Linked DNA regions of Homo sapiens: all the other regions are linked to region 3. The links are contacts of gene promoters, found by promoter capture Hi-C in human tissues and cell types (Jung and others, 2019). All regions are on one chromosome and are shown on one strand. Each heading gives the region's core, a stretch centred on a gene start or on the middle of the fragment in contact. The rest is flanking DNA. Distances are from core to core; before and after follow the strand shown.

What was found. The method cuts DNA at HindIII sites, captures the fragments that hold promoters and counts their contacts. A contact is called where the count stands out against the background at its distance.
Region 1: a fragment that was not itself captured here is called in contact with the fragment with the promoter of SPR in region 3 in 7 of the 25 tissues and cell types used here (heart left ventricle, heart right ventricle, liver and 4 more).
Region 2: a contact is called between a fragment that was not itself captured here and the fragment with the promoter of SPR in region 3, in 10 of the 25 tissues and cell types used here (IMR-90 fibroblasts, bladder, heart left ventricle and 7 more).

The regions. Positions count from the first base shown.
Region 1 is chr2:72,952,206-72,954,905 of GRCh38, reverse strand. The region is part of intron 13 of SFXN5 (sideroflexin 5); the gene reads left to right. Among named protein-coding and RNA genes, the nearest start is that of EMX1, 36 kb to the right of the region's middle. RefSeq lists a silencer at 748-917 and an enhancer at 2,311-2,700. The HindIII fragment of the contact is 8,875 bases long and covers 1-2,700 here.
Region 2 is chr2:73,013,692-73,016,391 of GRCh38, reverse strand. All of the region lies in intron 6 of SFXN5 (sideroflexin 5), which reads left to right. LOC107985897 (a long non-coding RNA gene) reads left to right here. Exons shown (of 2, transcript XR_001739535.2): 1 at 1-2,700. Among named protein-coding and RNA genes, the nearest start is that of SFXN5, 57 kb to the left of the region's middle. The HindIII fragment of the contact is 6,383 bases long and covers 1-2,700 here.
Region 3 is chr2:72,886,145-72,888,844 of GRCh38, reverse strand. It overlaps SPR (sepiapterin reductase), which reads right to left and starts at 1,437. Exons shown (of 3, transcript NM_003124.5): 1 at 1,109-1,437; 2 at 241-531. The coding sequence starts at 1,412. RefSeq lists silencers at 383-557, 1,196-1,585. The HindIII fragment of the contact is 16,003 bases long and covers 1-2,277 here.

The DNA.
Region 1 (2,700 bases), core at 200-2,699, 66 kb before region 3:
AAGTTTCTCCCAGTAGGATTAGGGAAGTGAAAACTCAAGACAGGGCCCTGGTGCTAGACAGTGGACTGAGTGAGTCCACTTGAGTTACATGCTGCCCCTCAGGTGCCCGGCCTGCAGCAAGGGTGTGCCCTCTGGGAGCCACCCTCTGGGAGCCATGTCTGGGCACGGCAAGTGGGCAGGGCCTTAGCCTTCCTGGGAACGTGTCTTATGGCCCCTAGACCCTCACTGGCTCCTTTGTCCTCCCTGCAGCTGTGGGGGCTGGGGTGGGGATGAGAGATTGGGTAGTGTGCTTCCTGGCTGGGGCTGCGGGCAGGGGAGAGGGCCCTGGGGCGCCCTTGTAGGGGCTGGCGGCTATGAGCGTGTGTCTCTTCCCTGCCTCAGCTGTTGCAGGGGCCCCTGGGGGCAGGAGTGAGGTTCACTGGCCAGGAGGCTTGTTTCCTGTGGGCCTGTTCCCTCCTGGCTGTCTTGTTGGTTTGTTGGCATCTGCCGTCTGCCTTCCCTGAAGCCTCAGCAGAGAACTGACCTCCCCCGGTACCCCCACCACCTGTTCCTGCCCCTTCTAGCTTTTGCCAAGCACCTCAACTAGAAGAAAAGACAGCCTAAGAGTCTCCCAGGGCCAGGGCTTCCTGCCCTGAGCCTCCCATGTCAGCCCTGGGAACTCCCCATGTCCCTCCCTCTCAGCTGAGCCCCTACTCACCTCAGCTCTAGAGGGTTCTGGGGATTAGAAGCCATGTTCTGAGGAAGTCTAAAGCCTTCCCCCGATGTCCTCAGCCCGTTATGAGCCTTGTCTCGTCCTGGCCTCAGAGGGTGGCTCTTACAGGCCACACCCATGTGGTAGACGAGGCAGGAAGGCCAACCTCAGCCACCCCATACTCCTTCCTGCCTCCCCACTTACAGCTTTCAGGGTTAAGAAACAGAGAGGCATACCCTCCCTGTATGGGCAAAAATGTGGGTACCCTCAGTGGGTACCAGAACCTCCACTATCTCTACCCTCTTACCAGCCCTGATGAAAATGGTGGTTTTGATGAACCAGCCTGGCTAAACAGCTGTGAGCCACCAGAAGCAAAGTCCCCCCAGCTTATCTTTCTTTGAGAAAGTATTGGGACCCCCAACCAAGAATGGAGAAGAGCTGGGAATAAGCTGGAATGTGAGTCCACATTCAAGCTGGTCTAGAAATGGCTCCTCCTCCAGGAAGTCCTCCCTGATCTTCCCCACTAAGATCTGTCTCACCTCACCTGTGTAGGCTCTGGTGGTGTGTTTTCTGTGTTCCATCTTCCCCCTTAGGACAGTAGACCTTTCTCCCTTCCATGACACAAGGTGTCCCTGTGGCAGAGAACTGGTGCCCTTTATCAACACCTAGTACAGAGCGTGGCTCATCTGGGTTCACCTTGACTTTGTTGGTCCCTGCTTCTCCCACTCTTCCAGGGTTGATGCGAGGCCAGAGACAATGTCTAGGGCACATTGCATCCCTCCTGAGTCTACAGCAGCATTCAGCGTCTCCCAGAGCAGGGGCCTCCTTCCCTCCAGTCTCAAATCCATCTCCTACTTTGCTTGGAGATGTTTGTTTGGGGTTTTTCTCATTTACTGGTTTAATCAGTCCCTACTGAACTCTAAAGTGGGCTATTTTTGCCGTCAGAAATCTGCTGCCTCCCCGCCCGCTGCTTTCTTGGAGTTTGCCCACAGGACCCCCCAGGAGGGATGGATGGGAATGGCAAAGCCGCTCAGAGCCCAGGAACGCCAACGCCACCTGTCATTTTGCCTGTTCCCCACACCCCCACCCCAAACCTGCGCGTGCACACAGGCTCGCACACATACACGTGCACGCAAGAACATGTACACATGCCCGGGTGGCAGGCCTCGGCGGGGCTGCCTGACAGCCTTTCCCCCACAGTTCTTTTTTCCAGGACCTTCCAGGACACCTAGCTGAATCCAGGATAGGGAGGGAGAAGGCTTGGTTGTGCAGAGCTTCCATTAAAGGCATTAATACATGCAAAGTGGAACATGCCTGGCCTGCAGCAAGGCTCAGCCCTGTGAGCTTAGTGAGTGGGGCTGGGGCTGAGTGTGGGGACCCTGGGTGCTGTCCTCTTTACACAGCATCACGCAGGTTTTCTAAGCCTCCAAAGGGCCATCCTATCCATTTTGTGATATAATCCTCGTGGCACCAGGAGATCTTAGAAAATCTTCCCATCATACATGTGGGGAAACTGAGGCCTCAAAGCTTAGAAGACAGAGGACAGAGAATGATTCTGAGATTGGTCCACCAGAGGGCACCCAGGAATGGTGCAAAGCTCCAAAATGGTAGGGGGCGGGGTGTGGTCTGAGCACTTGCTGGGAACACATAGCACAGGGGAGCCGGAAAAGTGTAAGACAGGATTCTTGCCCACGAGGCACTTCAGTGTCACTTAACTCAGCTGTTACTGAGGACCTACTGTGCACAAGGCATAGGGATACCGAGCTGCCTGGAGCGGCTCACAGTGGGGTGGGGCAGGGGACTACTGTAGTCACCCCTGTTTAGAGTGCAAATGAGCCTGTGCCTGGGGATGGGATGGAGATAAAAGCATGTGCTGGGGACACAGAGGCAGCAGCAATGGATTTGGTCTAAGAATATCAAGGGAGGCTTCCTGGAGGAGGCAGCCTTAGAGGGTCAGGATATAGCCTGGACTTAGGACTCAAAGCGTATACTTAGAATGTACAGAAAAT
Region 2 (2,700 bases), core at 13-2,512, 130 kb before region 3:
TATCGATTTATAGAGATCTTCCTCATTATTACTTTTTTACAGCTATATAGTATTCTACTAAGTGGAAGTACCATGATTTATTTAGATAATTTCTTACATTAGATTATTTGTAATACTTTGCCATCATGAATAATGCCAAAATGGTAATCTTGTGATATTGTTGGAATATATCTTCAGGGTAAATTCCTAGGTTCTATAGAAGGACTAATTAAATAGACATTTCTAGAAAGATTGATCAAGACAAAAGAGAGAAGATACAAATAAACAGCATTAGCAATAAGAAGTACAATAATTATAGATGCAGTAGCAGAATAAAAGATCAGAATGCATTGAACAACTCAAGGCAATACATTTAAAGACTTAGAAGAAATGAATACATTTCTGGGAAAATACAGCTTACCAAAACTGCCTAGAAAGACGAAATATAGAGTCTTTTTTTTTTTTTTCTTTTTTGGAGACAAGGTATCACTCTGTCTCCCAGGCTGGAGTGCAGTGATGCGATCATGGCCCACTGCAGCCTCAAATTCCTGGGATCAAGTGATCCCTCCTGCCTCAGCCTCCCAAAGTGTTGGGATTACAGGCATGAGCCATCACACCTGGCCTTAAAATCTGAATAGACCTATAAATAAAAGGAAATTTAATTTGCAGTTTAAAATATTTGCACCAAAGAACAAACAAACCCAAAATTATCACTGGGCTCTGATCTTCCAGGTGACTGTTCCCAAAGGAAGAGCTGAACTTAATTTTATAAAGCTTTCAAAAGCAAAAAAAGTGCCAGGCATAGTGGTTCATGCCTCTTATCCCAGCACTTTGAGAGGCCAAGGCAGGGGAATCGCTTGAGCCCAGGAGTTTGAGACCAGCCTGGGCAACATAGCAAGACCTTGTCTCTATTGAAAAAAAACAAAAAAGAGAGAGGAAAAAAAGGAAATCTTCCCAGTTCATTTATGAGGCACTTTGAGACCAATACCAAAGTAAGTATAAGAAAGAAAAAGTATAAGCCAATATCACTTATGAAATTACATGTAAAAATTATGAAATAAAATAATAGCAATCTGATTCCAGCAATGCATCAAAGTACATCATAACGAAATGCTTTTTACCAAATATGATAACATTAGAGAATGTATTAATATTAGTTGATCACACTGAGAAACTGAAGGAGAAACATGATTTCCCCAGTAAATACAGAAAAAGTATTTGATAAAATAAAACATAACTCAATTTACGGTAATTATTATGATAAAAACAACAGATTAGGTCTAGAAGGAACTTTCTTAACTTGATAGTGTCTATAAAAAATGATTTAAACCAACCATAGCAAGCACCTGTCTTAAAGATGAAACAAAGGTAAATTCTTAATGTGTTGGACAGGGTAAGAATGACTGATAATGTTGCTTCTATCTAACATTTTCCTGGAAGACTAGCAAGTGCAGTAAGACATGAAAAAATAAACAATGGTATTAGAGTTGGAAAGAAAGAAAGAAAAACATTTATGAGAATAGACAAACTATTGGAACTATTTTAAAAGATTTCTGGATGTAAGACAAGTATACAAAAAAATTTTGTATGCCTATAAACCTAAAACAAACATCTAGAATATGATTTTTATAAAAGATGTCATTTACAATAGTATTTTAGACAATAAGGGATATAAAAATAAATTCAAGAAACAATATTCAAGACCTTAATAGAGAAACATATACAACTTTATTGAAGGACATTGGAGATCTAAATAAGTGGAGAGCTGTATCATTTTGTTTTCTTCAAATTAAAATCTATATTCAATGTAATTTCAGTCATAATCTCATCAGGATTTGTTATGGAACTTGACAGGTTGCTATGAAAAGTTACATGAATACAAGCTAGGGGATAAGAATAGTGAAGACAATTTTCAAGAATAAGGTGGTGGGAGAGGACTCACCCTACCAAATATTATAAGACAACTTGGTTTTGGTACAGTGATAAGCAAATATGTCAGTGGAACAGAACAGAGAACCTGGAGACATGCCCATATGGAAATTTAAGATTTGACTAAGGTGGCATTACAAATCAGTGGAGAAAAAGGACAAACCATCTAATAGTATTATATGGTGCTGGGACAGCTGGCTACCTATGTGGAAAAGAAAGAAAGTCAGATCTCTACATCACCTTATATGCAAAAGGACATTTAAATATGAAAAGAAAATATTTGCAGCAATGTTTATGATAGCAAAAAATTGGAAACCGCTGAAATTCCATCAACAAGAAAATGAATCAGTCATGGCTTAGTCACGCAGTGGAATACTTAACACAGGAAAGAAAACAATGAGCAAGGGCGACATTTATGAATATGGATAAATCTCAAAAACAATGTTGAATGAAAAAATAGTAGCAGAGTAGTAATGCTCTCTGTCATTTATATAATGTTAAAAAATATGCAAAGCAATATTATATATAGTTTATGAGTACATTTTTAATGCATCCTTAAAAACATCCATGGGAACAATAAGCACCGGCTTCGTGATACTGTTTACCTCTGGGGAGAGAAAGCAATGAAATTTAGCAGGAGAACAGGGGGTGCTTCATTTGTATTTATAGTGTTTCATCTTTTAAAAACATCTTCACAAAAAAATTGACGAAATAAGATTGGACATATATGGATGCTCGTTATCCTCTAGACTTTTCTGTATCCTTGAAATATTTCATTTTATACATATATTT
Region 3 (2,700 bases), core at 188-2,687:
CTCAGACCTTCCTGCCCCACCCTCCAGTCCAGGAAACTCCTCACTCTCTACCAGTATCCCCGGCCCCTGCCACCTCTATTTCCCCTGGGTCTGTATTTCCCCTAAGGGGTGATGGGTCAAGATTCAAGGACAAAATCCTGTGGGTTGTTTCCTGGAGGGGGCGGACTAGGCCGCTTGCCCAGCCCCCAGAGGCGCACCAGTGGGTTCTGGAGGACAGGGACGGCAGGACTTCCCACCTACCTGGGGCATAGTTCAGCACCCTCACATTAGGTTCCTCCAGCGCCAGGACCTGGAACAGCATATCACGAGCAGCCTTTCCTGCACAGTACAGCGCCCAGCCTTTGAAAGGTTGCAGGGCACAGAGGGACGAGATGTTAACCACGGTTCTGTTGAGGCCAGGACTGTCCGGGAAGGCCTTCAGGACGCTGGAAGTCAGGCAGAGCATGGAGGTCAAGTTCAGTGCCCAGTAGTTGTTCACTTGAGTGGAGTCACTCAGGTCCACGAAGCCTTTGGACACATCCCCAAGAGAGCCTGAAAAACCAACCCTTAGGAGTAACTCAGTGCAGGCGGGGCTTTCTTCTTCCCCAGCCCTCCCAAGTTCCTCCAGATATCCTCTTCCCATGCAGACCTAGAGGAGGAAGCTGCCTAGCGCTTCTGAAGAGGCTTCTCTCTTCCCCAGCTCTGCGGAAAGACACAGCTGGGGAACCTAGCCATCCCAAGCTGCAGAATGAGAAGGCACCTGCCTTGCCGTGGGGCTGAAGGAAAGCTCTAGCGGTCCTTTGGAGAAGCAGAGAGTTTACTTGTTTGGAGACTCCAAGCCCTGACTCAGGCCTCCGCCAGAGGGCGCAGAGCAAGGGGCTCGGGAAAGTTCTACAGGCGCTTTGGAAAACCCGGCTGGCCAATTTTCCAGGAAGTGGGGGCAGACTGTTGTCCCGACGGCACCGAGTCTTCCTGTACACCTCGCCTCCACTTGCTACTCAAGCTGGAACAACTAGGGCTTTAGATTTCTAGGCGTCCTATCTGACCCCTAGGAGTAGCCCTTAAATTCCCCAGCGGTGGAGGAAGTGGGCGCTCACATGGGGAGTCCGCTCCAGCCCCGGGGTCTTACCCGCGTTGTTGATAAGCAGCAGTCGCTGCAGCCCCTTGGGCCGGGGGAGCTCGCGCAGGGCGCCGAGCAGCTGCTGCAAGCCGGCCTCGGCGCCCAGGTCGGCGGGCACCCGCACCACGCGCAGGCCAGACCGCTCGGCGCCCAGCTCGGCCTCCAGCTGGCGCAGTGCCTCGTCGTTGCGGGCGCTAAGGACAAGCACGGAGCCGGGCGACAGCAGCGAGGCCAGGAGCGGGGCCAGCGTCCGGCCGAAGCCGCGGGAGGCCCCGGTCAGCAAGCACACAGCACGCCCCAGCCCGCCCTCCATGCTCCTGTTCTCCGCCGGCGGCGCTGGCACCCGAGACCAGGCAGGAGGCGGTGCGGCCGCGGGGGGCGGGACCGCTACGGGTGTCGGCGGGGCCGCCCTGCCGGGGCGGGGCGGGAACCTCAGGCTTCGGGCCGCGAGCGCCCAGGGGTGCTGGTTCCCTTGGGATCTGGTTCCCTTGGTTGCTGGTGGCGGAAGTCAAACCGTGGCGGTAGCCCAGTCCGTGCCAAGTGGGACAACAGAGAGGGCCGGCAGGCGCGGCCCACACGGAAAGCCCTAGCCCGGTTCCCAGCGCTGCCGTGTTCTTCGCCCGCAAGCTCAGCCTCCGGCTGGGACGCATGCTCGAATTTCCTCCCAGTTCCAGCCCTAACTTTGCACTACTGACCTCTTCCAGGGCAGGCCCTGCACTGGGTGCTGGGCGTCCCTGGTCGTGGCCAGTGAACACCCTGAATGAAGCTTATGCCTGTTTAGGAATTGAAGTCTCTGCTTGTTTGGGAGCTCACCGCTCTCTGGATGACAGGAGCTTCCTCTGGGAGAACCACAGTGGCTCCAAATGATATTAAAACCTTTCCCTTTTACTAGGCCCTGAGCAGCTCCGTGATCCCACCAGTAACCCCTGCTTCTCTGAGATTTCTGACTCCTGTCCCTAAAAGTGTGTTCCCCAGGATTCTGCTCCTGCTCATGCTACAGTCTCCCTGGCAGCAATTCCATCCACTTTCAGCTTCAAGTTTGCGCAATCATCTGTCTGTACCTCCAGGCAGGTGCTTCAGAAAAATCCACATTTTTTTTTTTCTAGGAGAGGAGGAACGTGAGACAAGTTGGCATGCAGCTACATATATTAAAAAGGAATCTCTTCATGGTTTCCTTCTTAGTGGCCGAGTGGTATTCCATTGTGTATATACATATGTCCAAATATTGTGTGTCAGTTTTTAAAAAACGAATCTCTTTAGAGTTTAGCAAGGGCAGTAAGTAACCTCTGATAACTTAGCCCAATTCCCCACAGGGCTGATCCCTCCCCTGGGGCTAAACAGCAAAGTTACCGCCTTTCCACTATTATTGCCAACTCTAAGGAAGAAACAACTTGGAGGAAGGCTTTTTTCTTTTCTTTTTTCTTTTTTTTGACAGAGTCTCGCTCTGTGGCCCAAACTGAAGTGCAGAGGTGTGATCACAGTTTACTGCAGCCTTGAATTCTTGGGCTCAAGCAATCCTTCCACCTCAGGCTCCTGAGTAGCTAGGATTACAGGTGCGCACCACCACGCCTGGCTAATTGTTTTTTAAGCTTTTGGTATTT